7 separate regions of the Homo sapiens genome follow, and regions 2, 3, 4, 5, 6 and 7 are each linked to region 1. The links are contacts of gene promoters, found by promoter capture Hi-C in blood cells and fetal thymus (Javierre and others, 2016). All regions are on one chromosome and are shown on one strand. Each heading gives the region's core, a stretch centred on a gene start or on the middle of the fragment in contact. The rest is flanking DNA. Distances are from core to core; before and after follow the strand shown. Region 1 holds the start of ATP6V0A1 (ATPase H+ transporting V0 subunit a1). Region 2 overlaps DNAJC7 (DnaJ heat shock protein family (Hsp40) member C7). Region 3 overlaps RAB5C (RAB5C, member RAS oncogene family). Region 4 overlaps CNP (2'',3''-cyclic nucleotide 3'' phosphodiesterase). Region 5 overlaps KCNH4 (potassium voltage-gated channel subfamily H member 4). Region 6 overlaps KAT2A (lysine acetyltransferase 2A). Region 7 overlaps NKIRAS2 (NFKB inhibitor interacting Ras like 2).

The links. The method cuts DNA at HindIII sites, captures the fragments that hold promoters and counts their contacts. A CHiCAGO score of 5 or more calls a contact.
Region 2: a fragment that was not itself captured here is called in contact with the fragment with the promoter of ATP6V0A1 in region 1 in 2 of 17 cell types (naive B cells and erythroblasts); the score reaches 5.7 in naive B cells.
Region 3: a contact is called between a fragment that was not itself captured here and the fragment with the promoter of ATP6V0A1 in region 1, in 1 of 17 cell types (activated CD4 T cells). The highest score is 5.8, in activated CD4 T cells.
Region 4: a contact is called between a fragment that was not itself captured here and the fragment with the promoter of ATP6V0A1 in region 1, in 1 of 17 cell types (erythroblasts). The highest score is 5.2, in erythroblasts.
Region 5: a contact is called between a fragment that was not itself captured here and the fragment with the promoter of ATP6V0A1 in region 1, in 2 of 17 cell types (activated CD4 T cells and total CD8 T cells). The highest score is 5.2, in activated CD4 T cells.
Region 6: a contact is called between a fragment that was not itself captured here and the fragment with the promoter of ATP6V0A1 in region 1, in 4 of 17 cell types (fetal thymus, naive CD8 T cells, activated CD4 T cells and 1 more). The highest score is 6.8, in fetal thymus.
Region 7: a fragment that was not itself captured here is called in contact with the fragment with the promoter of ATP6V0A1 in region 1 in 1 of 17 cell types (fetal thymus); the score reaches 5.8 in fetal thymus.

Annotation. Positions count from the first base shown.
Region 1 is chr17:42,457,150-42,461,198 of GRCh38, forward strand. ATP6V0A1 (ATPase H+ transporting V0 subunit a1) reads left to right here and starts at 1,729. Exons shown (of 22, transcript NM_001130021.3): 1 at 1,729-1,814; 2 at 3,699-3,862. The coding sequence starts at 3,746. RefSeq lists an enhancer at 1,349-1,438 and a silencer at 1,589-1,798. The HindIII fragment of the contact is 8,228 bases long and covers 1-4,049 here.
Region 2 is chr17:41,998,983-42,003,001 of GRCh38, forward strand. DNAJC7 (DnaJ heat shock protein family (Hsp40) member C7) reads right to left here. Exons shown (of 14, transcript NM_003315.4): 2 at 1,500-1,588. Among named protein-coding and RNA genes, the nearest start is that of DNAJC7, 16 kb to the right of the region's middle. The HindIII fragment of the contact is 1,869 bases long and covers 1,525-3,393 here.
Region 3 is chr17:42,132,401-42,136,414 of GRCh38, forward strand. All of the region lies in intron 1 of RAB5C (RAB5C, member RAS oncogene family), which reads right to left. Among named protein-coding and RNA genes, the nearest start is that of HSPB9, 12 kb to the left of the region's middle. RefSeq lists enhancers at 853-902, 1,473-1,522. The HindIII fragment of the contact is 4,693 bases long and covers 419-4,014 here.
Region 4 is chr17:41,967,551-41,971,439 of GRCh38, forward strand. It overlaps CNP (2'',3''-cyclic nucleotide 3'' phosphodiesterase), which reads left to right. Exons shown (of 4, transcript NM_033133.5): 2 at 518-1,190. Among named protein-coding and RNA genes, the nearest start is that of CNP, 2.7 kb to the left of the region's middle. RefSeq lists enhancers at 1-276, 277-834, 835-1,392. The HindIII fragment of the contact is 2,485 bases long and covers 339-2,823 here.
Region 5 is chr17:42,172,934-42,176,866 of GRCh38, forward strand. KCNH4 (potassium voltage-gated channel subfamily H member 4) reads right to left here. Exons shown (of 17, transcript NM_012285.3): 5 at 3,121-3,364; 6 at 2,646-2,803. Among named protein-coding and RNA genes, the nearest start is that of KCNH4, 6.2 kb to the right of the region's middle. The HindIII fragment of the contact is 2,391 bases long and covers 483-2,873 here.
Region 6 is chr17:42,114,678-42,118,383 of GRCh38, forward strand. It overlaps KAT2A (lysine acetyltransferase 2A), which reads right to left. Exons shown (of 18, transcript NM_021078.3): 7 at 3,620-3,706; 8 at 3,230-3,340; 9 at 3,001-3,137; 10 at 2,711-2,919; 11 at 2,358-2,484; 12 at 1,046-1,156; 13 at 215-358. Among named protein-coding and RNA genes, the nearest start is that of DHX58, 3.8 kb to the left of the region's middle. RefSeq lists enhancers at 1,104-1,639, 1,363-1,682. The HindIII fragment of the contact is 5,792 bases long and covers 1-3,706 here.
Region 7 is chr17:42,023,946-42,028,032 of GRCh38, forward strand. NKIRAS2 (NFKB inhibitor interacting Ras like 2) reads left to right here. Exons shown (of 4, transcript NM_017595.6): 4 at 1-1,696. ZNF385C (zinc finger protein 385C) reads right to left here. Exons shown (of 9, transcript NM_001392013.1): 8 at 3,673-3,783; 9 at 1,631-3,188. The coding sequence ends at 2,952. Among named protein-coding and RNA genes, the nearest start is that of NKIRAS2, 5.9 kb to the left of the region's middle. RefSeq lists an enhancer at 992-1,041. The HindIII fragment of the contact is 886 bases long and covers 2,377-3,262 here.

The DNA.
Region 1 (4,049 bases), core at 479-2,978:
AAGTCAGGTTATATCTTCACTCACAATATGAGACAATAAATTCAAATAAAACGTCCATTTTTGTCCCCTTATTTTGTTTAGGCTGGTAAAGCAGGTTTGATGATGTTTTTGTCAGGTTGACAAAATTATCAGCAACAAGTTTTTATCTGGAATATCTCCCTCATTACACTTGAATTTCAACAGGGTTCCACCACCCAGGAAGACAGAATAACCGGTTTTCTGAGTTTTTCCTGATACAATTCTGGTTATCACAAACGACTTGAGATCCCTACTCTTCTTTAAAAGGGCAAGAAAAGGGAATCAATATCAATATTTGATAATGGCATTTAAAAAATAATAGACATCACTTTTGCGTTTAAAAAATGTTTTTCAATATTTAATTTACAAGTTGAGTACAAGCCATAAAAAATGTTTTTAAAATAAATTTGAGGAATTGAAAACTCCTAAGTGGTCAATTGAGCCCACATGAATCTACCAAACAAGACTGAAATGTACTTTCACAACATATGGTCTGATGAGGTTTTTCCTGTTAAACAGAGAAAAATAGACCCGGGGAAGTTGCTGGAAGGCATGAACCATGTACCATTTAAAGAGAGGTTTTCCATACTTATGCAAATGAGACCCCGTTAAAGACTCTACTACAGGATCTAAAGCTAGCCGCTCCCCAGTCTGGGGCTCAAATGTTCTCATCTGTAAAATAAGGGAAAAGAGAAAGGGTGGTATATGTGTCTGCGTATTAATTATTTGAGTGTGTGTGTGAATTCTTTGGATATGAAAATAAAGAGAGAAGACATTAATTATTTGGGTGCGTATGTGTGAATTAATTCTTTGGATATGAAAATAAAGAGAGGGCCGGGCGCGGTGGCTCACACCTGTAATCCCAGCACTTTGGGAGGCCGAGGCGGGTGGAGGCCAGGACCAGTCTGGGCAACATGGCGAAACCCCATCTCTACAAAAAATACAAAAATAGCCGGGTGGCGTGGTGCGTGCCTGTAATCTCAGCTACTAGGGAGGCTGAGGCAGGAGAATCCCCTGAACCCGGGAGGCGGAGGCTGCAGTGAGCCGAGAACGCGCCACTGCATTCCCGCCTGGGAAACAGACCATCTAAAAAAAAAAAAAAAAAAAAAAAAAAAAGGCCGGGCGTGGTGGCTCACGCTTGTAATCCCAACACTTTGGGAGGCCGAGGCGGGTGGATCACGAGGTCAGAATTCGAGACTCAGCCTGGCCAACATAGTGAAACCCCGTCTCTACTTAAAAAAAAAAAAAATACAAAAATTAGCCGGGCATGGTGGTGCGTGCCTGTAGTCCCAGCTACTTGGGAGGCTGAGGCAGGAGAATCGCTTGAACCCGGGAGGTGGAGGTTGCAGTGGGCCGAGATCACGCCACTGCACTCCTGCTTGAGCAACAGAATGAGACTTCAAAAAAAAAAAAAGAAAGAGAAAAGACAACCTACCCCAGTATAAGGGGTAAGAAAAAGGATTCAGGGAGGCTCAGGAACTTAAGGCCTCGAGCACCTGCACCTCCAGCCCCACCCGCTAACCCTCCCCAGCGTGGAGATACAGCACAGGGGCCAACATGGCGTCAGCACGCTGGGTCTCGCCTGCGACCCCCGTGACTCCGCACTGCTGCAGCCCGGGCGAGGCTGCGCCCCATTGGCCAACTGCAATGAGGTCATTGCGGGGGCGGGGGCCGGCGGCGGCGCAGGGGCGGGGCTTTACGGACGCAAGCACGTCGAAGCGCTGCTCCTGGAGCCGCGGAGGGTGCGGGTTTGGCTGCGGTGGTTTCTGTGGCGGTTGCTGTGGCGGAGTTTGGAGGTGAGTGGGGGCTGTAGGTTTAGCGCAACAGGGAGCGGCCCTCGATGGACGTAGGAAATCCTTCTAAGAGCCCCCTTGATTGTCAGAGGAATTAGCGGGGATCTGACGTCTTCGAGATAAAATGGGGGTTCGCCCCCTCCTTGGGCACCCCTCCTCTGCCCTGAGGAACCGGAGGCTCACTGCCCTTTGGAAGCCCCGCATCTCTTCCCTGCTTTAAGGGGTAGGCGGAGGAACCGGAGGTTATTGGATAGGCAGAAGAATTTAGGGGGCTTCTTAAAGGGTTTCTCAGTTTGGGGGTTTTCCTCTCCTTTTTTCCCATCTCAAGGTAGATGAGCCTGAGTCCAGAGAATTCCTGCTCATTGGGTAGACAGGAAATGAAGCAGGTGAATACCGTGGGAGGAGGCGAGGACCGGATGACAGGAGTGAGATTCTTCTAGGCAGGGCGCGGGGGCGCTGTAGTTGGACTCATCTTTTGCAGAATTGCTGTTTCTTCATATTTTGTTTTGTGATCGTCCAGAACTACTTTGGCCTAATTAGTTTTCTGTTAGCCTCCATTGCTATAGAGATATTCTTGGGAGACCTATAATCATTAAAGAGCAGGAGGACGGAGGCGACTCGTTGGAGGCTTATCATTATCCACAGCTCCTGAACTATGCTGACCAGGCCTAATTTTATGTGTTTAGAGGTTGTAGAATCTCTCTTTGTTTAAGGGTGGTGCCGGTAACAGCTGATTTGGATGATTCAGATGTACAGAATCTTAAAGTCAGCCTGCATATTCTCTTGAGAAGTCCTTGCTTATGTCTGAGCTTGTGTTACTGTCTTGAACATCACATGCACAAAGGTTTGTTCGTTCAGATTTCTCAAAATGTCTCCCAGCCTTCCAGAAGAGTAAATCTTCCTTTGATGTCAGACTCATCTATCAGTACTCAGTATAGATGCCCTTATGACACTAAAAATACTGTGCATTTTTCTGAGTTTGGATACTGGACAGGCTGTGCCTTACATTAGCTGATCGAGAATAAATAATTGCAGTTTCAGGACCACTGATAGCGCCAGTTGTCTCATACCCGGCAACAGTAAGACAGCACTAAAACGAAACCTTTATTGGCTCATGAGATTTGACAGATGGAAGAATGTAATTAATCTTGAAGGTAGGGTTGAGAAACAGAAAGCTGCAGAGGTGGAAGGCTTATTCTCTGTGGCTTGATAAAACTGCTTTGTCATTATCAGTGTGTTCCTGTCATGCTTGATTTGAAATTGAGCTTAATATGCAAACTGGTTGCTTTTTCCAGATGACGGTTATTTGTTTGAATTCCTAAGTGGGGAAATATTGTTTTCTGAGGAATCTGGAAGATTAAACCCTTTAGTGTAGCCATAGCTTTAGGATAGTGCCAGAACTTTGGGCTTTTAGAAATGCGCATTGTCAGTAGAAGGGAGAAGGATAGTTACAAGGCAGACATCTTTATGAGAGGGTATTGAAGGCCTCTTCTGTTTGTTTCCTGCACTAGCAAAAACAGATTGAGCAGTGTGAAACTCACTGCCTCAATATTGTGTCCTGGGTATTTAAAGAGTTGTTTGAGGTTCCCAGTTCCTGTCTTTAATCTGGATACATTCTTATCAGTTGAGTTGCCCAAAATAATTGTCATTTGATCCTGATGTTGACTGGAATGGAAGTGACTTTTCATCTGACACTCTGTGGGACAGAATTCAGGAACTGCCTTTGCAATTTCTCCTTTCCATCTTTCTAGACAGGGTGTCAAAAACAGTTGTTGACCTGTCCTCATGGGGTGTTAGAAATGTAAATGCAAGAGCCGTAGTGGGGTGTCATTTGCTCTTAGCCCTCGTGGTAATTTCCAAAGTTATGTCATTTTCTCTTTGCTTCAGGTTGGAGAGAAATCCAGGTACTCACTAGACTGGTACCTTCTGCCACCATGGGGGAGCTTTTCCGGAGTGAAGAAATGACACTGGCCCAGCTTTTTCTACAGTCAGAGGCTGCTTATTGTTGTGTCAGTGAATTAGGAGAACTTGGAAAGGTTCAGTTTCGTGACGTAAGTAGTTGTGGGGCTGCGACTTGATTACTGCTGAACTCTATTGCTATCGTGGTCAGATGCCTTATGATGAATGTTTTGTTTTTTATTTGCAAAAATAACATTATAGCACTGACTTCCTATTGGCAGAATGCACATTTTGAGTTGTCTTTCTAAAGGTGAGAATGTTTTGTGCCAATCTTTACAT
Region 2 (4,019 bases), core at 1,209-3,708, 460 kb before region 1:
TGAGACCAGCCGGGGCAACATGGTAAGACCCTGTCTCTATTTTAAAAAATTTAAAGAGTTAAAAAAAAAGAAAAGAAAAAGAAAAAAGTTATCATTCATGAGTTTGTTTTTTTTTTTGAGACGGAGATTCGCGCTTGTTGCCCAGGCTGGAGTGCAGCGACGTGATCTTGGCTCACTACAACCTCTGCCTCCCAGGTTCAAGCAATTCTCCTGCCTCAGCCTCCCGAGTAGCTGGGATTACAAGCGCCCACCACACCTGGCTAATTTTTGTATCTTTAGAGACAGGGTTTCACCATGTTAACAGGCCAGGCTGAAATGAAATGTGCATGTTGAGTTGGGGTAAGCAAATTAGGGGAGAAGAACTCCTGACCTCAGGTGATCCGCCCGCCTCGGCCTCCCAAAATGCTGGGATTACAGGCATGAGTCACCACGCCTGGCCTTCATGAGATCATTAAGCCTGAAGGAGTTCATACAGTAACAGTTATCAACCCATTGGGCAAAAGGCTACTTCTCAGAGAGAAGCTACTTTTCTCAATTTTTTTTAATTTAATTTTTGAGATGGAGTTCTTTGGTCGTCCCCCAGGCTGGAGTGCAACGGCAGGATCTCAGCTCACTGCAACCTCCACCTCCTGGGTTCAAGCGATTCTCCTGCCTCAGCCTCCCTAGTAGCTGGGATTACAGGCACGCACCACCACACCCAGCAAATTTTTGTATTTTGTAGAGACAGGGTTTCACCATGTTAGCCAGGCCGGTCTCAAACTCCTGACTTTAGGTGATCTGCCTGCCTTGGCCTTCCAAAGTGCTGGGATTATAGGCGTGAGCCACTGAGCCTGGCCTATTTTTTTTATCTTTTTGAGATGAAGTCTTGCTTTGTTGCCCAGGTTGGAGTGCAGTGGCACAATCTTGGCTCACTGCAACTTCTACCTCCCGAGTTCAGGCAATTCTCCTGCCTCAGCCTCCCAAGTAGCTGGGATTACAGGTGCCCGCCACCAGGCCCAGCTAATTTTTGTATTTTTAGTAGAGACAGGGTTTCGTCATGTTGGCCAGAGTGGTCTGAAACCCCTGATCTAAAGTGATCCGCCTGCTTTGGCCTCCCAAAGTGCTGGGATTACAGGCATGAGCCACTGAGCCTGGCCTATTTTTTTTATCTTTTTGAGATGAAGTCTTGCTTTGTTGCCCAGGTTGGAGTGCAGTGGCACAATCTTGGCTCATTGCAACCTCTACCTCCCGAGTTCAGGCAATTCTCCTGCCTCAGCCTCCCAAGTAGCTGGGATTACAGGTGCCCGCCACCAGGCCCAGCTAATTTTTGTATTTTCAGTAGAGACGGGGTTTCGTCATGTTGGCCAGAGTGGTCTGAAACCCCTGATCTAAAGTGATCCTCCTGCTTTGGCCTCCCAAAGTGCTGGGATTACAGGCGTGAGCCACCAGGACTTGGCAGCTACTTTTAATAATATTTGGCAAGTAAATGTTTTCTAGCGTAAGTATCAGTTCTTTCTCACCTATGGCTTTTGTATAATAATTATAAGCTTCATTGTAATCTTTCTTGGCATAGTATGCATTTCCTTGTTCCTTGAAAGTCTCTGCTTCCCTGAAAATGAAAGAGAAAGAGAATCATGTTACTTTACAAAGGGAATAACCTCTGTAATCTTACAGGAGGAATCTTTGGTCTAGAGCCCGCAGCACACTGAGCTGAAAGTTAGTGTGATACTTGAAGGATTTATAGATTTGTTGAATAGGCCAATGGACCAAAAGGAGGTGCTAATGAAAGAATCCAAGTTCTTCAGATGCTCCTTTTTGTCACTTAGATACATTCAAACTAAATCAAGAAAACCCCTCTTATGTTCCTGCCTCACCTCACTATTTCTGCCTGTAGTCATCCTCCCCGCAGGACAAATTTAGACATTCCCTCATGGCAAGGAATTTTTCTATCTCCTTCCACAGTGTCACAACTGCTGCCTCTTTTGCAAACTTACAGGAAAAATGGTTACTCCATTCAGGGCAACTTATTTCTCAATGTGAAATAGGTCACATCCTCAAGAGTTTTAATAATTTCACCTCCTGAAAAGTGGCTCATGCATTTGTCACTGGAAGAACAAGCAGAGCAAAGGCAGGTGGCAAAAGAGTTAAAAGCATAGCATGTTGGTGTTTAAGACAGGAACAGAGCTGAGTGACAGCAGAGACTAAGACCGTGGATGACAGGGACATATGAGGTACAGGATGCCAGTGCCATACTATAAGGAGCACCCATCCACTGGTGTTCCCTCTTCCCATCACAACAATGTAGGTACTTGCTGCCCTCTTTGTACTCCCTCCAGTACCTTATATATTCAGCAACTGGGTGATAGCAGTATTTTTTCCCTACCTCTAAGATCTATTTTTTGAAACTGTGCCATTAGACAAAGTATACTTTCCTAAACTTTGTCCTAAAGGAACAATGTTATATAATTGGGAATTAGATTCCCGAGCAAGTACCTAGAATCAAATCAGACATGACCAACAGTGTTTTAAAAGAACTAGTAACCTCTATCAAGATACTCAAAATCATTCCACTGCTCAAGTGATAAAGATAATTCTTTACTGAAATGATTACTGCAACATTAACTAAGTACCTGATCATTTTTGTTATGAGAAACATCTTTCTTTTCCTGTTGTTCACATGCAAAAAAGAACCTAGTTCGGGGTTGCCTGAAGTTGAGGCAAAAGTCCTAGTTCTTAAACCTTGGTGATGGTACAGCAATTTACAGCTTGAGTCTACGGATATCTGCATTAGGGAGATTTGTGATTTACTTAAGTATTTTAAACTACAAACTGGTAAAGTCGCCCTCCTTTTATTGAGGTGATCCTCCCTCTCCATTCTTCTCCATCACTGTCCTGGCAAGCCCTACTAATATGAAAAGGCTGCTAGAAGGAGAAGGCAAATGGGAATGACCTATAAATGCTGACAGCTGTGAAATGTGATGGATATAAATCTGCTTGAGTAACTGTCTATACCAACTATCACAATGCTGAAAAGAGGCCTTCTGCTATGAAAAATCTTCAAGAAAGATCCCCCAATTGCAAGATTTAAAGAACCAACTGAAATCTTGCTACATGGTATTCACCATCCTGTAACTCTAAATTAAGCAAAGTGCTTATAAAAACTCTCAGGAGCCTATCCTTTAAGAGCAGACATGCCAAGGGATTTGAACAAAGGACTTCCCCAAAACTGGATTTCGATTAGTCAAACTGCTGTGAAGAAATGGAGTAGCAAATTCCAAAGTAAGACATTAGGCCCAAACTCCATCAGAGAAGATCTAGCCTCTTCTTCAGTTGGCTAGTGGCTAAGAATATACAAATCTTTGAGGAAAACGAAGACATCTAGGTACCTGGGGAGACACTGTGTCAGCAGTATAAAGCTTGTTAGTCGAAAGTGAAATAATGTACAGGGCTGCTGAAAGGTGCCCCTAGTCTCCTCCTTCCTAAGACACTACCCCTATGGAGGTCGGGGAGTTCAGGACTGGCTTCTAGAAAAAATGCAAAGGATGATTTTGGTGGACAGTTACTAATAACTACTGAGGCCAGGTACTTTCCATACAGTATCCTCTATAAAACACAGTCCGGTGAACTTCATTATTCCCATTTTTCAAAAGAGGAAATAAGGCCTGGGGGTTAAATAACTTGCCTGAGGTCAGGATGTTACCCATGTTTGTCAGAATACAAAGCTTGTGCACTTTCTACTATGCCAAGCTTTCTCTCTAATGCTTGCCTCCGCTTACTGCTAACTATTTTGAAAATTAGTCTGTACTACGAGGAGTAAGACATGGACAATATATGTAAGACATGGACAATACATATAAATTTGTTTAAACTAAGACACACAGTACACCCCACATGTAATATTCAACCCCAGAACCAAAATCGGTATTTAAATAAGCTAAATGACATTCCTAACAATTAGTCATAGAGGAAGCAGGGCTCCTTTCTCTTTAAGATGCAAGACCTAGTGAACTGGACTTTGCCTCCCCAAAGAAATGCATTTC
Region 3 (4,014 bases), core at 1,515-4,014, 320 kb before region 1:
ATTTTTCATAGTTTAAGACGCTTTCTCATTTCACCTCAGTCAATGAAGAGACAAGGTCTGTGCTTTCTGCTTCTTAGAGATGCCTTCCTCACAGTGCCTATGTGCATACTAGGAACTCAAAGAGTGCTGATGGAAGGAAATAATTTTTTTTTTTAAAGAAACAAGGTCTCACTGTGTTGCCCAGGCTAGAGTGCAGCGGTGTGATCACAGCTCACTGCAGCTTCCAAGATCCTACTGCCTCAGCCTCCAGCAGGTATACACCACCACACCCAGCTAATTAAAATTTTCTTTCTTTCTTTCTTTCTTTTTTTTTTGCAGAGATGGAGTCTCACTGTGTTGCCCAGGCTGGTCTCCAACTCCTGGCCTCAAGCAACCCTCCCGCCTCAGCTTCCCAATTGCACAACTATTATCTCCTTCAAGCTTTACGACAACCTCCATTTTTCAGATAGATAATTTAACATTCATATATTAAATGTCCTGCTCATGGTCACCCAGCCTACAGGTGACAGAACCCCCCAGACCCACCATAGACATGATGCCATCCTCCCTGCTGTGGAAGAACAATGGAGGCAGTGCCTGCCCTATGTTTGGTTTAGGGCTGCTAGGTGAATGAAACTCTCTTTTTTTGTGGCAGCAACTTTGCTGGTCCAGGAAGGTCTAGCTCTAGCTGGCTCTAGCAACAGTCACAGTAATCTTGCAGTTTCTGAGTGCCCTCAACAGTGGGAGGAGCCGCCCAGAGCCAGGCAGGGCGACAGCAACAGAGGGAAAACCACAGTGGAATTACAAGTTGGTTATTACCATGAATCCACGTGACACAGAGTCTTGGCTGAGCAATGGTCTGTGGCTGGGGCACTGGAGGAGGAGGTATGAATGGACTGGGAGATGGTAATAGAAAACCAAGTCTCTGATTCCAAAAAAACCAAAGCAGCTGGTGCTTAGGGTACCGAGCTGGGAAGTAACCAGCACCTACAGGTCGAGAAAAATACAGGTAACAGATCTAAGTCTTGTCACTACCAAACCACAGGGTTAGAGGAACAGAATGTGATTTTTAAAAACAAGCCAGAAGGGGAGACAAATAACTCTCCTGCAGTGGTTCTCAACGGTGTCTGTACATTGAAGTCATCTGTGCAGCCAGCCCCTCGAGATTCTCATGAAGGTTTGGCACAGAGCCCAGCATCTGCAGGTGAAGCACACCCACTGAAGCACAGCCAGGGCTAGAGCATCTGGCAGAGAGAGAGTGAGCACAGGCACTGGCTTTCGGCACCACAGATGTGACTGTCTCCTGCCACTTCTGAATCACTTTGTAGAAGCCACCTGAGCTGAGCCTCAGTGTTCTCATCACTAATATGGGGCACACCAGGGTTAATGGCAGTGTTTGCCAGCTGTCTCACACACATCATGTTGAGTAAACAGTAGCTAAGAGTACTGACAGGGTTATTTGTAACACTTTCTCCAAGACTGTTGGTGAACAGACTCTGGCCATCCCAATGAACTGAGACAGGCTCTCCCTGGCATGAACTAGCTGGTGACATGTTCTGCCTGGTCACTGATCCTGCCTTCCAGAGATACCTGAGCAGGCACACCCAGCACTTTTTACGGTCTGTTGCCTAGTGGTTTGCCTGGCCCTGCTTGGTGATCAAATGAGCAGTGGTGTCCAACCTTTGCAGTCAATAAAGCCCAAGGAAGCCAATTTTGCTAGGAAGGGCGCACGGAGATATGAGGGTGTCTAAGCCAGGGGAAGGCCAGACCGAGAGCCCCAGGAAGCATTATACCCTCTCCTCCCAAGCCTGGGAAACTGAAGACATGGCAGGTAGTAAAGGTGAATGCATTCACTGAGCTGTCCTGCCTCCCAGGGATGTGTGTCTTACTGGCAATCTTTCTTTTTGAACCCCTGGCAAAAATTATCCACTTGTGCAGTCAGGTGATGGAATTATAGCCAAAACTGACATAGTTTTCAAAGTCTTCTTTGAGACAAAAATCAAATTCTCCATAAGAGCTAAAGTTACAGTCAAAGTTGATTTTTTTAAATTAGCCAACGTGGTGGTACACGCCTGTAATCCCAGCTACTTGGGAGGCTGAGGCACAAGAATTGCCTGAACCCAGGAAGCAGAGATTGCAGTGAGCTGAGATCGCGCCATTGCACTCCAGCTTGGGGCAAAAGAGTAAGACTCTGTCTCAAAAAAAAGTTGACTTTTTTTCACAAGTACAATGGCCGTGCTGGAGCTTCAGATCTAGGGAGAAAGATTCTCCTTGCCATGGACCCACCATCCAAATCAGAACCCTGGCTTGTTCAGAGGCCACTAAGAACAAGCACCAGTCCCAACCTCATGTCTTCCACAGGAAAGGGGAGAGAATGTATAAGGACTTGGAGTCACACTATTTTCCTATTAATACAATGCACATGAAAGCGCAGAAGGGATCTAAGCTCCTAAACACCCTGGCCCTGTGCACAGGCACTTCTGGGCCAAGGATGGAAGAGAAAGAGAAAGAAAAATGGGACACTGTTCTTCCCTGCTCCGGGGTTCCCTCTGCTCTGGACACTACAGGTCAGTGGGTCTCAAATTCTTTTTTTTTCTTAAGTTTTTTTTTTTTTTTTTTGAGACAGAATCTCGCTCTCTCACCCAGGCTGGAGTGCAGTGGCACGATCTCTGCTTACTGCAACCTCTGCCACCCAGGCTCAAGCGATTCTAATGCCTCAGCTTCTAGGAGTAGCTGGAACTATAGGTATACGTCATTACACCCGGCTAAATTTTTGTGTATTTTTTGTAGCGGCGGGGTTTTACCACGCTGGCCAGGCTGGTATCAAACTCCTGCCTCAACCTCCAAAAGTGCTGGGATTACAGGTGTGAGCCACCTGTAATTTTTTTTTTTTTTTTTTGGAGATAGAGTCTCACTGTTGCCCAGGCTAGAGCAGTGATGCAATCACGATTCACTGCAGCCTTGACCTCCCAGGCTCAAGTGATCCTTCTATTTCAGCCTCCAGTCAAACTCTTCTTCACCAGAATCACCCAGGGCCTTTAGAAAATACCCTGACCAACTGAATTAGAATCTCTAGAGGTGGAGTCCAGAAATCAGTATTTTAAAAATAAGTTCCCAGTGATTTTAAGCAGTTGATCGAAGCACAAGAGCTACAGTTGATATACGAAGGAGGGAGAAATCCAAGAGACAGAAAGGCACCCCCGATCAGTGCTGTGCACAACTCGTAAGTGTGCATGTGTAAGTCCATGAATGTGGGAGGGGTCTTCAGCTTCACTCAGCAACTGGAGCCTTCTCCAAGACACTAGATGCTGCTGCAATTCCTCCCCCTAACCTCCCTTTGAAAGTTTCACCTTTCCTCTAATCCACGAAGTCACCCACTTCATATGTTTTGTCCTTCCTGGTAAAAGGGTGAGCAATTCCAGCTGATGAGTGTCTCGTGTACTTCCTGTTTGCTTTAGAGACTTCCTCTAGCTGAGAGTCCTGGCACAGCCTGGAGAGCAAGCTGATTAGGGAAACCAATCAGACTGTTGACCAGGGCAGGCGGGGCGTAGAGACTAGCTCACTCAAGGTTAGCCAGGTGGCCTGAGAACCAAGTGACCCCGCCCAGGGTCCCCTGCAGGTGCTTCTGACCAGTGACTCTTCAGCTACATTTTACCCCGGAAAAGGGCATTCCTGAATATTTAAACAAGAGTCCAGCAAAACAAAACAAAATCAAACCAAAAAAACAACAGCAGAAAGGAGTTGTTAAAGAAAATGGAGCAAGAGACACAGGAGGAAGTAACTCGGTTCAAAGGCTAAAGTGGAAGACATTTGATTTAAAAGCCAACTGGAGTCAAGGTTTTGCAAATGCTTCCCAGGCTCCGATTAGTTGGGGAGATGATTTACCCATAGGCTCAAGAACACAGCTCTTCCTCAAAAGGGAAAACCACTGCCAGCACACAGAAACAGAGGACAGACTCACAGCAGGACTATCCAGGCTTCTAGCTGGTTGCAGACCCAGAGGAAAGAAGAATCTGAAGCAACGCCAGCCACGAT
Region 4 (3,889 bases), core at 331-2,830, 490 kb before region 1:
CCTGCCCCCCACCAGCCCTTCTGTGGGACCATTGTACCCGCATGCCAGACAAGAGAGTATTATCTGTTGCGGCCATTGTTGGGGGAAGGGAGGCAGTCTTGGGGTAACCCTTCTCCACTCCCCCCCTTCTCTGTGCACTCAGCCGTGGCAGCTGTGGCTTGGCCCAGACACAGAGACCCCCACCTCCAAAGAGGACGTCCTTAGTAGGTGCCAAGCATATAAGAGTGAGGCCAGTCCCAGAACCGCAGGCTCCTGGCGCGCCCCGCATGCCTCCAGCACGTTTACCTTTCCGAAGTGGCAGGAATGGGGAAAGCGCACGCTTAGGAGAGCTTCAGACAAGCTTCCCTCTTCCTCCTCCACGACCAGAAGCGGAAAGGTGCTCCCGGACCGAAAGGGAAAGAAGGTCCAGCACTGCCCCGCTTGGGAAGGCACCCACAACCAGTCTAGGGACTAGGGGTAAGGCCGGCGGGGAGCCCGCGAATGACCTGGGCTGACATCTCTTCCCCTCCTTACACAGAACAGAGGCTTCTCCCGAAAAAGCCACACATTCCTGCCCAAGATCTTCTTCCGCAAGATGTCATCCTCAGGGGCCAAGGACAAGCCTGAGCTGCAGTTTCCCTTCCTTCAGGATGAGGACACAGTGGCCACGCTGCTAGAGTGCAAGACGCTCTTCATCTTGCGCGGCCTGCCAGGAAGCGGCAAGTCCACGCTGGCACGGGTCATCGTGGACAAGTACCGTGATGGCACCAAGATGGTGTCGGCTGACGCTTACAAGATCACCCCCGGCGCTCGAGGAGCCTTCTCCGAGGAGTACAAGCGGCTCGATGAGGACCTGGCTGCCTACTGCCGCCGCCGGGACATCAGAATTCTTGTGCTTGATGACACCAACCACGAACGGGAACGGCTGGAGCAGCTCTTTGAAATGGCCGACCAGTACCAGTACCAGGTGGTGCTGGTGGAGCCCAAGACGGCGTGGCGGCTGGACTGTGCCCAGCTCAAGGAGAAGAACCAGTGGCAGCTGTCGGCTGATGACCTGAAGAAGCTGAAGCCTGGGCTGGAGAAGGACTTCCTGCCGCTCTACTTCGGCTGGTTCCTGACCAAGAAGAGCTCTGAGACCCTCCGCAAAGCCGGCCAGGTCTTCCTGGAAGAGCTGGGGAACCACAAGGCCTTCAAGAAGGAGCTGCGACAATGTAGGTGGCAGGTTGGGGCCTTATAAGCCCACCTTGCTGGGCACAGGGTGCTGCGGGCAAAGGACCATCATTGTACTCAAAGGATGGAGCACGAAGCAGCAGGAGGCAGAGAGAGGCTCACCTCAGCGGGGGCAGGGGCAAGCGGTGCGTCCCAGTGGTAGCCTTGGGGAGTTGGCAGCACATTGGGAACACGGGGGCTTCCCAGAGCGCCTTTCCTCCCACCACACCTATCCTTCTAGCCCTCTTCTCTCCGACACCCTTTTCCCAGCCTGAATGTAGACCACTGTCCCTTGTCTTGGAGGTGGGAAAAACAAATTACTGTAGTAACAGGAAACATGTCCTCTTCTAATGTAACCTTAGAGGGGGAATCAAGCCCAGTGTTTTCCAACGCATTTTTAGCAGCAGAATCATGTTCCAAAAAATAATAATAATAATCACATGAAATTGTAAGCTGCAAAAAAATTAAAACTAGGACTATTGTGGCTTCACTGGGGATGGTTCTCAGGCCTCGGACTGCTCAATTTACTCATGGGTTTGTGGCATCTGCAGCTCCAGAGGACACAAGTCTCACACTTAGGCCAAAACCCGTTTTCAGATGGAAAAACATGGACCCAGGAGGGATGTGGGGTTTACGGGCTGGAACCCTGGACTCTGGCCACTCTAGCAGGGTTCTCTCTTGGCATGGGCTTTTTGCTCCAATGATAGGTTTGAGATAAAGAAGGGTCCTGGTGGCTCTCCTGGAGTGACCTGTTGGAGAAGTGCCACCCACTAATCCATCTATATGCCTTTAGGCCATTTCTGGTTGCCTCCAATTTTATTTATTTATTTATTGTGACACGGAGTCTCCCTCTGTTGCCCAGGCTGGAGTGCAGTGGCGCTATCTCAGCTCAGTGCAACCTCTGCCTCCCAGATTCAAGCAATTCTCCTGCCTCAGCCTCTCGAGTAGCTAGGACTACAGGTGTGCACCACCACGTCCAGCTAATTTTTGTATTTTTAGTAGAGACGGAGTTTCACAATGTTGGCCAGGCTGGTATTGAACTCCTGACCTCAGGTGATCCGCTTGCCTTGGCCTCCCAAAGTGCTGGGATTACAGGCGTGAGCCACCACCGCACCCAGCCACCCCCAATTTTAGATGATCTTCATGCCTGAAATAGCCCCACTCTGGTTTGTTGACATTGTGTATATTGCACAGAAGCAGGGAATTTGTGCCTGTATGGGTTCTCAGAGAGCTTTTTTCTCAGCTCCTAAACTTGAACTCTGCAGTGAACTGTGGTGCTTGCAGTGACATTGGCCAGGAGCAAGCCCTGTACCTGTGAGCTGGTGGCTCTGCCCTGGAGTGACTACTGCTCAAAGTTGCTTTTAATATTTATTTATGAGACGGAGTCTTGCTCTGTTGCCCAGGCTGGAGTGCAGTGGCATGATCTCGGCTCACTGCAACCTCCGCCTCCTGGGTTCAAGCCAATTCTCTGCCTCAGCTTCCCAAGTAGCTGGGAATACAGGCGCCTGCCACCATGCCCGGCTAATTTTTTTTTATTTTTGTATTTTTAGTAGAGACAGGGTTTCACCATCTTGACCAGGCTGGTCGGTAGCACAAAAGAAAGGAGGGGCCCTTGGCCCAAGATGGGACGAATCAAGCTTGACAGGATGATTGCCAGATCTTTTTTTTTTTTTTTTTTGAGACGGGGGTCTTGCTCTGTCGCCCAGGCTGGAGTGCAGTGGGGCAATTCGGCTTACTGCAACCTCCATCTCCCGGGTTCAAGCAATTCTCCTGCCTCAGCCACCCAAGTAGCTGGGATTACAGGCACCCGCCACCATACCTGGCTAATTTATAAATTTTTAGTAGAGACAGGGTTTCACCATGTTGGCCAGGCTGGTCTCAAACGCCCCGCCTCAATTTCCCAAATTGCCGGGATTACAGGTGCGAGCCACTATGCCCAGCCTATTTTATTTGTAAAGGAAAACTGGATTTTTCTGCCCAGGATTAGAGCAGGAGAAATGTAATGGGCCAGCAAGGCTGCTCTCAGGAGAGGCCTTCCTCCCCTGTGGAGGGCGAGACATCCTCATGGGGACTCAATTCAGAACATAACAGGAAAAAGCGAGTGACTCCAAAGACAGCCACAGGTGTGGAGTCTGGAAATCAAAATCACAGATACTCCACTCCTCTTTGTGTCTTCCAGCCCCATAATGTCACCCCATTATAGTCCAAGACCCTTCCTGTACCAGGAGGCCCCCCCATAGGCCTGCAAGGTGTGTATTAAACTGATGGTGACGTTGTGACTGCTTGTCCAGATGGGCCCCTGAGTGAAATGGGGCACTACTGATAGTTCCCTGGTGGTCCTGGGAACACTGGGGTATATGGTCACCCTAACTGTTGTGCTGGATTGATAGATAGGGTTGGTCACTTGCCCGAGGCCGATGGCTGGTACATGGCAGAGCTGAGATATTCACTGTGTTCTGGCTGTTTCCACCGTACCATGTTGTTCCCAGCCCTCTGTTTTCTTTCCACCCCACTTCCCATGACTTGCTTCCCCTTTGAGACGTGGTGCTAGTAAATCTTAGATTCCCTTGGCCTGTACTGCCTGCCTCTGTTACAAATGCCTTAGAGTTTGGAGAAGAGATGGAAAGATCTATACAATGTAAAGCCAGAGAATTTTAACTTTTTTTTTTTTTTTTTTGGAGACGGAGTCTTGCTCTGTTGC
Region 5 (3,933 bases), core at 428-2,927, 280 kb before region 1:
CTTCTTCTTGTGGATCGGCTGCAGATGAAGAGTCAAGCAGAAGAGTTGAGGGGGCAGGAGAGCAGGGACTGAGGGAGGCTGGGCTGTGCTAGGGGTTGACGGAGATAATGGTACCTGGTAAGTGTCCCATATTCACTAATATTACCCCAAGTACCATCTGCATTGTGGTTATCAATATTGATTAGCCCTTCAATCTTGGAGATGGGCAGGGCTTATCTTCTGGGTGGGAGCAGCCTGGCAGCTAGGACTGGAGGCTCTGGGGCAGTGCCTGGGGAACTTGGTATGAAAGCCCCTCATTGCCCCTTCCTGGGCCTCCAGGAACATTCCCCACAGCCCTGGCCCTACACTGCTCCTGGACCACCTCGTGCAATTTTTCTCTAATTTTAGGTGAAGGAACTGGAAAGGAGGTGGCTCTGATTCCTCCATATGGACCCTCGCCAGGGTTTAATGCCTACCCCCAGCTCCCAGAGCCCTTGACTGCAAGCTTGAGTTCTTCAGGGCTTCCCTCAGTCAGCTGCCCTTGGGCCACTCTCTTGGGGATACTCCTGTCATTCTCCTTGGACTAGAATATCCAGGCCTGGCTCCTTCAAGTCTGCAGCTCTGCCAGTGCCTGCTCATCTTCTGTCTCTGCTCTACCTCTCTCTGGCCCCCAGTGGTATTCCTCATCTCACCAGACCATCCACTCAGGGGCCCTGGTTACCTGGGAAGCAGGGTGGTATGTTGGAAAAAATACTAGACTGGAAGTTTAGCGATCTGGTTCTTTTTTTTTTTTTTTTTTTTTTTTTTTTTGAGACAGAGTCCCTGTCGCCCAGGCTGGAGTGCAGTGGCGCAATCTCGGCTCACTGAAAGCTCTGCCTCCCGGGTTCAGACCATTCTCCTGCCTCAGCCTCCCAAGTAACTGGGACTACAGGCACCTGCCACCACGCCTGGCTAATTTTTTTTGTATTTTTAGTAGAGACAGGATTTCACCATGTTAGCCAGGATGGTCTTGATCTCCTGACCTCGTGATCCGCCCGCCTGGGCCTCCCAAAGTGCTGGGATTACAGGGTGATCCACTGCGCCCGGCCAAGCTGGAGTGCAGTGGAGCTATCTTGGCTCACTGCAACCTCCACCTCTGGGACTCAAGCAATTCTTGTACCTCATCCTCCCGAGTAGCTGGGACTACAGGTACGTGCCAGCACACCCGGCTAATTTTTTGTGTTTTAGTAGAGAAGGGGTTTCACCTGTTGCCCAGGGTGGAGAGACCTGGTTCTAATATCCTGCCTGCCCCTGCTAGGTATGTGACCTTCAGCAAGTCACTGAACCTCTCTGAGCCTCTGTACCTACCTCTGAAAAAGGATAAGCCTCTGCCCTGAAGGGTTCCCGTGGGGCTCCCATGTGATGATGAGTGTGAAAGAACATAGGGAACTGTAACGTGCTCCCAAAGGGACCTGAGAGGAGGGGCAGGGGGCTCTCTGTAGTGTCCCACTCCCCAGCTGATGGTGCCTGGTGGGCATAGAGGGGTGGGCGCACCCCTGGGGAGGGGTAGGGAGATCTGCTCAGAATGGTCAGAGCCTCGAGGCAGACGTACACACATGCACGTGTGTGGGAGCACGCACACACGTGTGCACAGCCAGGAGAGGAGGCCCACAGCCCGTTGGCGGCTAGTTAAATTCGGCTGCGTGTAGGTGGTTTCCTGCTATAGCTGAGTGCAGGGAGAGAGCACACAAGGAAACTGCTCCCCACTTGCCCGCCCCACACCCAAGGGGGCCTGGGGACACGGGGTAGCACTGCCCCACCCTGGACTTGAGAAGACCTACTATCTGCTGGCTGGGGCCACAGATGACCACTCAGGGCACCTCCAGAGTGTCCCCAGGGATCTGTGAGGACTCAGGTCCTGGCATTCTTTGCCTCTGAATTCACCCCACAGCCTCTACCTTCTTGTCTAGGTTTACTATGCTCCCCCAAATGCTTGCTGTCCTCATCTCCTTCCAGCTAAATCCTACTCACCCTTTAAGGTCTAGCTATACCATCTCCGCCTCCCTCAGGAAACCTTCCCAGACCCCTCCAGCCTCTGCCCAACAAGGGCGCTTTTGCTTCCCAGGTGCTGGCCAGACTTCAGATCATTTTTACACACACTCATGTTCCAGCCTGGAACTCCAAGGTCAGCCCAGCCCCTCTGTAGCATACCCGGGCCCCATCTTCCACCCCCATTCACCTCTTCTGTCCCTGATGTGCTCTGTGGCATTCCTGCCCCCTCACCAGTTTGGCTGTTTAGAGGCTGAATCCTTGTTCCCTTTCCCCACAGTGGCCATGCCCCACACAGTGCTTTGCAGACAGCTAAATGCTCATCAGTTGTTTGTTAAATAAAAATGTGAAAAGTACCACTCATTTGGCATCAGACCAATGCCGCCTTGGTAGCCATAGTTAGCTTTTCATTTGTCTCAGCTTCCCTCAAAGATTGTGAGCTGAGCTCCCCAGGATCACAGACCCTCGGGATCCTCCCAGTACCTAGCACAGGGCTATGCCCAGAGCAGGTGCCTGATAAATATCTGCAGATGGATTGATGGGAAGGGGCATATCTGGGTTTGGGGTCAGTCCCTTCCTGGAAGATGCTGTGCTGAAGTTGGGAGGTTGGACTGGATGGCGGGATGGAGGTCACTCACCACGGTGATGTTGAAGATGTAAAGCAGGTCAAAGGGCAGAGCAGCAATAAGGTCGATGAAGAACCAGGTGGCCAGGTAGTGGAGGCCAATGGAACGAGGAGCAGAGATTACCTGGCCGGACTGGGACACATAGGTGGTGCGGAAGTTCAGGATGATATCTGGGGGTGCAAGAGGCTATTACTGGGGGGCCTTGGCAAAGGGGTCAAGAAACCGACAAAGCTGGGAACAAGCTTTGGAGACTGGAGGAGGAGGCAGGCATGGAGAGATAGATTGGGCTTCTGGCTGGTCCTTAGGGAGGATAGGTTACAAGGCTGAAGGCTGCGGGGAGCAGGACACATGGGCCATTGGGACTTAAAGATGCAGAAAGGAAGGGGCTCTGAATGTCTGGGTCATGTGGGCCCCAGGAGTGGGTGAGGCTTGGCCAAGTGGATCCCCCCAGCCGACCCACCAGGGTGGGTGAGGCAGAAGGTCTGACCTAGGATGAAGAGCATTTCCACGGCGATGTCGCTGACAAGGGTGTGTCGCGAAGTGATGGGGGTGTCATCGTCACCCGAGAAACAGACATTGTAGGGGACGGTGACCGCAACGTAGAAGGTGGCAAGGAGGATAAGGCCGTCCCAGATGGCCTTGGAGACGCTGTAGTGGAGGAGGAGGCAGCGAGACCCCCCCACGGAGGCCACCTTGTACTCGGGCACTGATGGCTTTGGCTCAAACACGTTCTAAGGGGAGAGGGGTGGCGGTTGGGGACACTTGAGGGAAAGAGGAGCCAAGATGGGGGGTGGGAAAGGCAGGGGATGGGGAAAGTTAGCAGGTGGGCACTGCAAGGGCACTTTTGACCATGAATGAAAGGAGATAGAAGGCCAGGAGAGGGGCGCAGAGGCTGACACCTGACATTTTCTTCTCCTGCCAAGTATTTCCCAGGCCCTCCTCCTTTTTTTTTTTTTTTTTTTTTTTTTTTTTTTTGAGATAGGGTCTTGCTCTTTACCCAGGCTGGAGTGCAAGGGCATGATCTTGGCTCACTGCAACCTCCACCTCCTGGGTTCAAGTGATTCTCCTGCCACAGCCTCCCAAACAGCTGGGACTACGGGAACATGCCACCACACCTGACTAATTTTTGTATTTTTAGTAGAGATGGGGTTTCGCCATGTTGGCCAGGCTGGTCTTGAACTCCTGACCTCAGGTGATCCACCCACCTCAGCCTCCCAAAGTGCTAGGATTACAGGTGTGAGCCACTGTGCCCGGCCCCAGGCCCCTGTTTGAACCAATCATGTCTTGTCAAGGGTATTTA
Region 6 (3,706 bases), core at 95-2,594, 340 kb before region 1:
ACTGGCTGCACCCACCCAGCTGCAACGCCACCTAATCCAGCACCTCCCCTCATAACTTCCCCAAGGGAGCAGAGCAAGAGCCAAGATCCTGGCCTGCCCCTCCTCACTCACACACATATATGCATGTAGACGTAGAACAGGTCTACACACGTGTGCTCGCCCTCTGCATGCCCATTCATGAAAAATCCCACAGATGCGCATGTGTGCACACCACCTCTTTCTGCTTCTTGATGATGTGGGACAGCTCCGTGTAGGGGATGCGGGGATTCAGCTCACACTCCATCAGCGTCGCTCCCTCGTAGTCCTTGATGTAGCCCAGGTAGCGGCTCTTGGGCACCTTGATGTCCTTGGAGAAACCCTGGGGGGTGGATGGTCATGACCCAGTCCATCCATAAGTATTTCCCAACTTCTGTCGTCCCTCACCTGGGAGCACCAGAGGAGTAGCACGTGCCACTTGCCACCTCCTGCTCCTGAACCTCCTCCTGGGGCACTGTGAGGGTTCAAACTGTCCCTGGAAAGGTCCCAGGTCAGCTGCCCACTCCTGACTCATCCCGAAGAGTCCCCCAGTTCCTCCAGCCTGCTCTACTGGCCCCCCAGTTCCTCTAGCCTCCTCTACTGGCCCCCCAGTTCCTCCAGCCTCCTCTACTGGCCCCCCAGTTCCTCCAGCCTGCTCTTGGCCCCCAGTTCCTCCAGCTTGCTCTACTGGCCCCCCAGTTCCTCCAGCCTGCTCTACTAGCCCCCCAGTTCCTCCAGCCTGCTCTAGTGCCCCCCCCAGTTCCTCCGGCCTGCTTTACTGGCCCCCTAGTTCCTCCAGGATGCTCTACTGACCCCCAGTTCCTCCGGCCTGCTCTACTGGCCCCACAGGCCCTCATTCTCCCCTGGGGCAATGGCAGCAGAGGAAAGAAGATAGGCATGGAGACTCTCCTGGCAGGTGTCAGGTGAAGTAGGGGACGCAAAGGGACTCCTACTCCATCCACAGAGGGGCTGGACAGAATTACCCCAGCCTCCAGGCAAAGGACCGGTGTGGGACGAGGCTACGGGTCACCTGCTTTTTGAAGTAGCCGATGGCGTACTCGTCGGCGTAGGTGAGGAAGTAGAGAATGTTGTGCTTGATGTGATACTCCTTCAGGTGGTTCATCAGGTGGGTCCCATAACCCTGCGGGGGAGGGAAGCAGGACTCACCAGGAGCTGAGGATGGGCCTGGTGCTGGAGAGGTCTCAGAGACCAGAGAAGAGCGGGTAGATTGGAAAGGAGGTAGAGAGAGCGAGAGCATCCAGGCAAAGAGGAAGAAAGGCAGCTGACAGAGGAAGGGGAGCTTATGGGGAGAAAGTGAAGGGTGCGGGCTTTCTAAGCTCACTCTGGGCTAGGTGCAGTGCTTCCTGTTTTACAGACCGATTCTCAAATTAACCCCAGAGGCGAGTATTACCACCTTTATTTTACAGAAGAGAAAACCGAAACTCAGCTACGTTAGGAAATGTGTTCAAGGTCAGGCTGCCAGCCGTGGCAGGGCCGGGTCCAAACCCAACACAGGCCACTGATTCCCAGTCCCTGGGCCTCAGAGTTGGGAGAAGCGGGAGAGGGAGTCACCAGAGGTCTGAGCAGCAGGAGCAATGCCTCCCACACGTCAGGGCCAATGAGGCACCACACAGATCTGAGGTATGCGACACACAGAGCCAGAGACCCTACGAGTGGGTCTGTTGTAACAAAGGACAGAAGCCAAAACTATCAGCATAGGGCTACTGTAATAATGATTAGTTTGGCTGGGCGCGGTGGCTCATGCCTGTAATCCCAGCACTTTGGGAGGCCGAGGTGGGTGAATCACTTAAGGTCAGGAGTTAGAGACCAGCCTGGGTGAAACCCTGCAACATGGTGAAACCCTGTCTCTACTAAAATACAAAAGTTAGCCAGACGTAGTGGTGCATGCCTGTGGTCCCAGCTACTTGGGAGGCCGAGGCAGGAGTATCACTTGAACCTGGGAGGTTGAGGCTGCAGTGAGCCCTGATCATGCCTCTGCACTGCGGCCTGGGTGAGAGAGACCCTCTTTCAAAAAAATAAATAAAAAATAAAAAGTAAAGTAATTAATTCCCCCATGTATGTAAATGTTCTTGTGATGCAGAAAACCCAAGTCCACAGGTCCACCAAAGTGTGGCTGCTGCTTGGGCTCCGTCTGTCAACAGGTGGTTTCCTAATCCACAGTTATCAAAGTACGGCTGCCACCTTGTGGGGATGTGAGGAACGGGCCGCTAACTAAGAGAAGAGCAACGGGCTGCTGCATGCCACACATCCTGCTGCTCCGAACTGGCCCAAACTCAGGAGTGGGCCGTGGACTGGGGCTGGGGCCGGGGAGCCGCGCTCACCTTGACCTGCTCATTCGAGGTGACAGCACAGAAGACAATCTCCGTGAAGCCCTGGGTGGGAAACATGCGGAAGCAGATGCCACCGATGACCCGCCCATCCTTGATCAAGGCCAGAGTCTTGTGCTTCCTAAGAGAGAGGGGGGCATGTCATAGCCCCTGACTGTCCCCTTCAGGTCCCCAGAGCCCTGGAAGTCTGAGCTGTAGTCAGGGTTGGGCAGTGAGAAGTAAGAATGCTCAAAGGATGAACCTCAGAAGTGGGGAGCAGGGGATCCCCAATTTTGAGGAGTGAAGAGGCCGAGGAGGAAGGGAACTGGGTGTGCTGCCCTGGGGGAGGGGCTCTCTGGGGGACGCACGGGTCAAAGACGAGGCGGGCGATATACTCCTTAGGCATGCGCGGCAGCTGGTGGGAAAAGACATTCTGCAGCCCCACGAGCCACAGCAACACCCGCCGGTTGGCCTTGGGCGTCAGTGAGTTGCCGATGACATGGAACTCGATGATGCCGCGGCGCTCCTCCAGGCGGGCTGTCTCATCCCGGGCCGCATTGGCCGAAAGCAGGCTCGTCTGGGCACAGAAGAGGGGTGGTGAGCCGGGGTCTCAGGTTGGTGGGGGTCCCCCAACTGGTCAGCAGGTCGGGCTGCCCACCTCAGGCCCCAGCATGGCAGCAGGGTCAGTGATGGTCAGCATGACCTCATTGACCAGCTCCATGGGGATGTCACCCATCACACGGAGCCGCTTGGCATCCTCCAGGGTCAGGTTCTCTGGGAGCGTCCTCTTCTCGCCTATTGGGGAGGCAGGCAAGGTTGCTCAGGATCAGTAAAAAAGGTTTGGGAAGGAGTGAATGAGGGTCAGAGGTCAGGGGTCAAGTATCCACCTGGCATAGGCTCGGCCCCTGCAGAATCCAGACTCAGGGAGCTGTTGCTGCCCCCACCCATGCTGGGGCTGAAGATGGGGGTGCTGGGAACAACCGCTGCACTGACTGAAGCTGAGGAGAGAGAGAGACGTCAGGGATGGGGGGCTGAAGCTGAGGAGAGAGAGAGAGAAGTCAGGGACGGGGGCTGAAGCTGAGGAGAGAGAGAGTCAGGGACGGGGGTGCTGAAGCTGAGGAGAGAGAGAGAGAAGGCAGGGACTGGGGGGGCTGAAGCCGGTGGCAGGTCCCTCAGTGGGATCCAGGGCCTCCGGCCCAGGTGAGCTCTCTTCCACCCAGGAGGCTTAGCTCAGCCAGGCAGGCCAGACACCCTACAGAGCGTACCATGGCACATACCTGGCCGGGGAACCAGCTGTGTCCCCTCTGAGGGTGGCATGGTGAAGCCTGACTCCCAGATTGGAGAGTTTGCCCCATAGATCTCCT
Region 7 (4,087 bases), core at 1,570-4,069, 430 kb before region 1:
CTGGTAGATGTGTTGAGGGCAAAGTAGAGGACAAGCTGTCTTTCCCAGTCAGCCAGGGAGCTCCCCGCCAGGCCACGCCCCAGCCACTTTGCTCCCTCTCACCTCTGGGAAGTGCAAATACTCTTGGTTGACATCCCCTTCCTCAGCCCTCCCAGCCTACTCCCCATCCCAGCTTTTAGAGGATCTGCTCCACTGTCTCCTGGGGCAGTTGTGGGTCACTGTCCCTTCCAGCTGCCCCAGACAGGAAGCAGAGTCACCACGCAGCAGTGTCCCTTCTTGGGTCTGAGTTCCTATTATAGGTAGGGGCCCCACCCTCTGGGCTTCCCATCAGCGACACACACACACTTATGGCACCAGCCTGGACTCCAGAAAAAGGGTGTCCAGGTATTGTGTGTATGCATTTAGTTGTGCACACACAAATATGCTCCTATACTGGCATTAGGCGTCTCCTCATCCCTCACCCTGACCTTTCTCCTGTCCTTTTCTTGGCTGGAAGAAGTTGGCCTCCTGGGAGTGTAGTTTTCTGTTTTAAATCCCCCACCCCTGGCTGGGCTCAGTGGCTCACCCCTGTAATCCCAGCACTTTGGGAGGCCAAGGCGGGTCGATTACTTGAGGTCAGGAGTTCACGACCAGCCTGGCCAACATTGTGAAACCCCATCTCTGCCAAAAATACAAAAGTTAGCCGGGCGTAGTGGCACATGCCTGTAATCCCAGCTACCCGGGGAGGCTGAGGCAGGAGAATTGCTTGAACTCAGAAGGCGGAGGCTGCAGTGAGCCGAGATCGTGCCACTGCACTCCAGCCTGGTCAACAGAGCAAGACTCCATCTCGAAGAAAAAAAAAAAAAATTCCCCACCCCTACCAATTGTTTTACTTCCTCTTCCTGCTCAGGGAGCAGATGGGCCTCACTGGTTGAGATGGAATAGAATAACTGGGCTATGAGTCACCAGCCCACTTTGTGACCCAGCAAGACCTTTCCCCTCTCTGGGCATCAGTTTCTCATCTGTAAGATGACCAGAGTTGCTTAGATGATCTCCTAGATCCTTTCCAGTTCTCTTGATTTCGTAAAGCCAATGGCTTCTCCCTCTTTAAGGTGCTATGCCAACCAGCCCTGGAGGCTGGGATCTGCCGCTCCCTCCAGCCACCAGGGGGCAGGAGTGCACTACCTGCTGTCAGTCACCAGAGTGGCCGCTCAGTGCCCAGCCCGCCAGCCTCGCTCTTGGAGGCTGCTCTTTATCCTGCCTGTGGTTTTCAGCTCAGAGCTGGACTTCTATTTATAAGTTACCTGTATTTATATTTATATGCCCGCTCTCATGGTGAAGGCTGGACAAGGTGCTCCTCTGGCCCCTCCTTCTTACCTCAGATGCCTGAACAGAACAAGGCAAACCCGTAGCAGCCTCTCAGGAGCTGACAGGTCCTCTTTCGGGGCTCAGGAGGGTGGGCACACACCCAGCGGCCTGCAGAGTAAGCTTATTACCCACAACTGTGCCCGCTTTGTGCTTCTAAGGTGCACACCTAGCCTAGGTGAGACACTGCAGCCAGGCAACCACCGACACACGCCCCTTCTCAAAGCCAGAGGTGAGTGGGGCAGGTGCCCGGGGCTGGGTGAGTGGAATTAGGACACACACAGGCTTGGGCTTCAAGTTCATTTATTGATGCATTGGTTGGACACAATAAAACCACAATTGTTATCAAAAAGTTTCCCTCCCCTCCCCCTTTTTCTGGTTCTCCCATTGGAAATGTCTTTAAAAAACAAAAAAAAGATACAGGGGGATACTGGCAGGGTCCCATATTGTGGGGTGGGGAGGGGGCAGTGCTGCAGTGGAAAGGAGTTTGTGACATTGACATTGACAGCATGAAAATGGGTCTTGCCAGTGCATGTGAGACTGCCTCCCAACACTCAGCTTCACAGTGGCAGGGGCTGGTTGGGAGAAGGGAAAGCTGAATTTAGTGCTAGGACCAGTTTGGAGTGGGAAGCTGTAGGGGAAAGCTCTTCCTTTGGGAGCTCTGCGGGGGGTTCGGTGTTAGCTGAGTCCATAGTCTGAGGGAGACCCACACCCGCCCTCCAAGAGTTGGGGTTCAGGAAGTCAGAGAAAGGCTAAGAAGAAGAGCTTCTGAGGGATGAGTTACTCCCTCAATATTAAGACTGGGCTTATCAGCAAGTATCACTTGAACCAGGGAGGCAGAGGCTGCATGCAGTGAGCCAAGATTGCACCACTGCACTCTAACCTGGGCAACAGAATGATACTCTCAGACAGAAAAAAAGACTGGGCCCATGAATGCCCAGAAGACTTAAGATTAAAACAAAACCCTGGGCCCAACCAGAACATCACCTCCTCTCTTAGTCCCACCCCTTCAGAGCAGATGAAGCCCCCAAAAGCTTTCAGAACCAGCCCCACTACCTCCTTGGCTCTGCCCCACCTTAGCACTGCTGATCGAAGGACTTTTGGGTCCCCCTTTCTCCTCCATGGTCCTCTGTCACACTCCCATGGTCACCTTGTCCTGACAGCCTTGAGCCTGCTGCAGCTAGAGACCCCATCCCTATCTCCAGTGAAGCCCCAAAGCCTAGGAATAGAGGTCAGAGAGTCGTCCCCTGGCTAGGAGAGGATGGCTTGTAGAAGCTAAGATTCCTAGAGTCTGGCCATGTGGGTCTTGGGTGGAGGAAAGTGAGAGCACCACATGGCTGGGGCTGAGATTTTGCATAGATCTTTGGGGTCTGTCAGGGTGGGAAATGCAGGCAAGCCTAGGATTAACCCTGGAAGGCCTGCGAAAGGAGGGTGGGGACAGTCCTTGGAAGGCAGCTGCCCTTAAAACTAGCCCAGCTCTTTCTGGATCGGGCAGGACCCCTGAAGCTGTTCACAGTCCCTGTGGCATGTAGGAAACCAAGGTGTCTCAGGACAGGAGGAGACAAGGAGTGGCTATTGGGAAATCAGCTCTGGCCTCCCCATGAGGGCTAATAAGGGGCAAGGACGATAGGTCCTGTGGCAGGGCGGACAGCTCCTGCTGGGGTGCGAAACAGAGCTGGGCCCAGGATGGGAGCCGGGAAGAGGGTAGTGGCTGCTGTAGGGGCAGGGCGGAGGGCCAGGGGCCCTGGCAGAGCACAGATGGCAGTGGCTGCGGTGGGGAGCGGGCTGGGCAGGAAGCGGGCTGCCAACGTCTTGGTGAGTTGCTTCTGCAAGGCCAGTTTAGACTACACGGAAAAGAAAGGAATGGACACAGTCTCCACCCCAGAAAACCCCACCCCCTCCCTGGGGCCCATCCTCAAGCTTTTTGCTGCAGGGAAAGCGTGCCTTTTAGAGTTCCAAACCTAAATCCTCCTCCCTTCCCACCCCCAAACATTCATTCCGAAGGGCTTTCTCCACCACCTGTCTTCCTGTCCAGAGGGAGGAAAGTCTCAGCATGGGAGAAGGGAGGAGGATTTACGGGATAGAGATGGTCTCTAGGAGATGCACGCCCACCCCTCACTCTTGCCCCTAAGATGACTATCCCAACCCACCTCCCCGGAAATTCCTCTGCGCAGATCCCAGTTCCCAGGCCTAGCTCTGTCACTGCCCAGCAGCCTCATTGCAGGGTGGCCTCTTTTCCTGCCCCACCGCAGCCCCCCCATCTGGCCCTCCCAGCCCACCCTCTCCCCTCCTGACCCAGTCCCAGCTCTGTTGCCTGGAGACAGATACCTTGAGGATACTCACAGCCAGCGCTGCGTGCTTCTGCAGCTTGCTGTGCTGGCTGGAGGGCTTGGGGGTCTTCCCGGCCAGGCGGTCTTTGTGCCTCCTGCTGCTCATGTGCTAATGGACAGACAGACAGACTGGGAACAAGATGACAAAGCCCAAGGACCCCAAGACCATCATCCTCGACTCTTCCCCTTCCTCTATCCACAGCTCATACATCCAAAGCACACAGACTGGGTCCTCACCCTGGGGTAGGCCCTGGGAAGGGGAGGTGAGTCTTGGCCTTTGCCCTTAATTGGCCCACTGGCCTGCTGGCCTCGCTTCTCCAGCCTGCTCTGCTGTGCCCTGCCTGCTCTCTTCAGGGTCCCTCCCTCTGCTGCCCTGCCCCCCAACCCCCTCCCCTGGCTCCAACCCCAGTCAC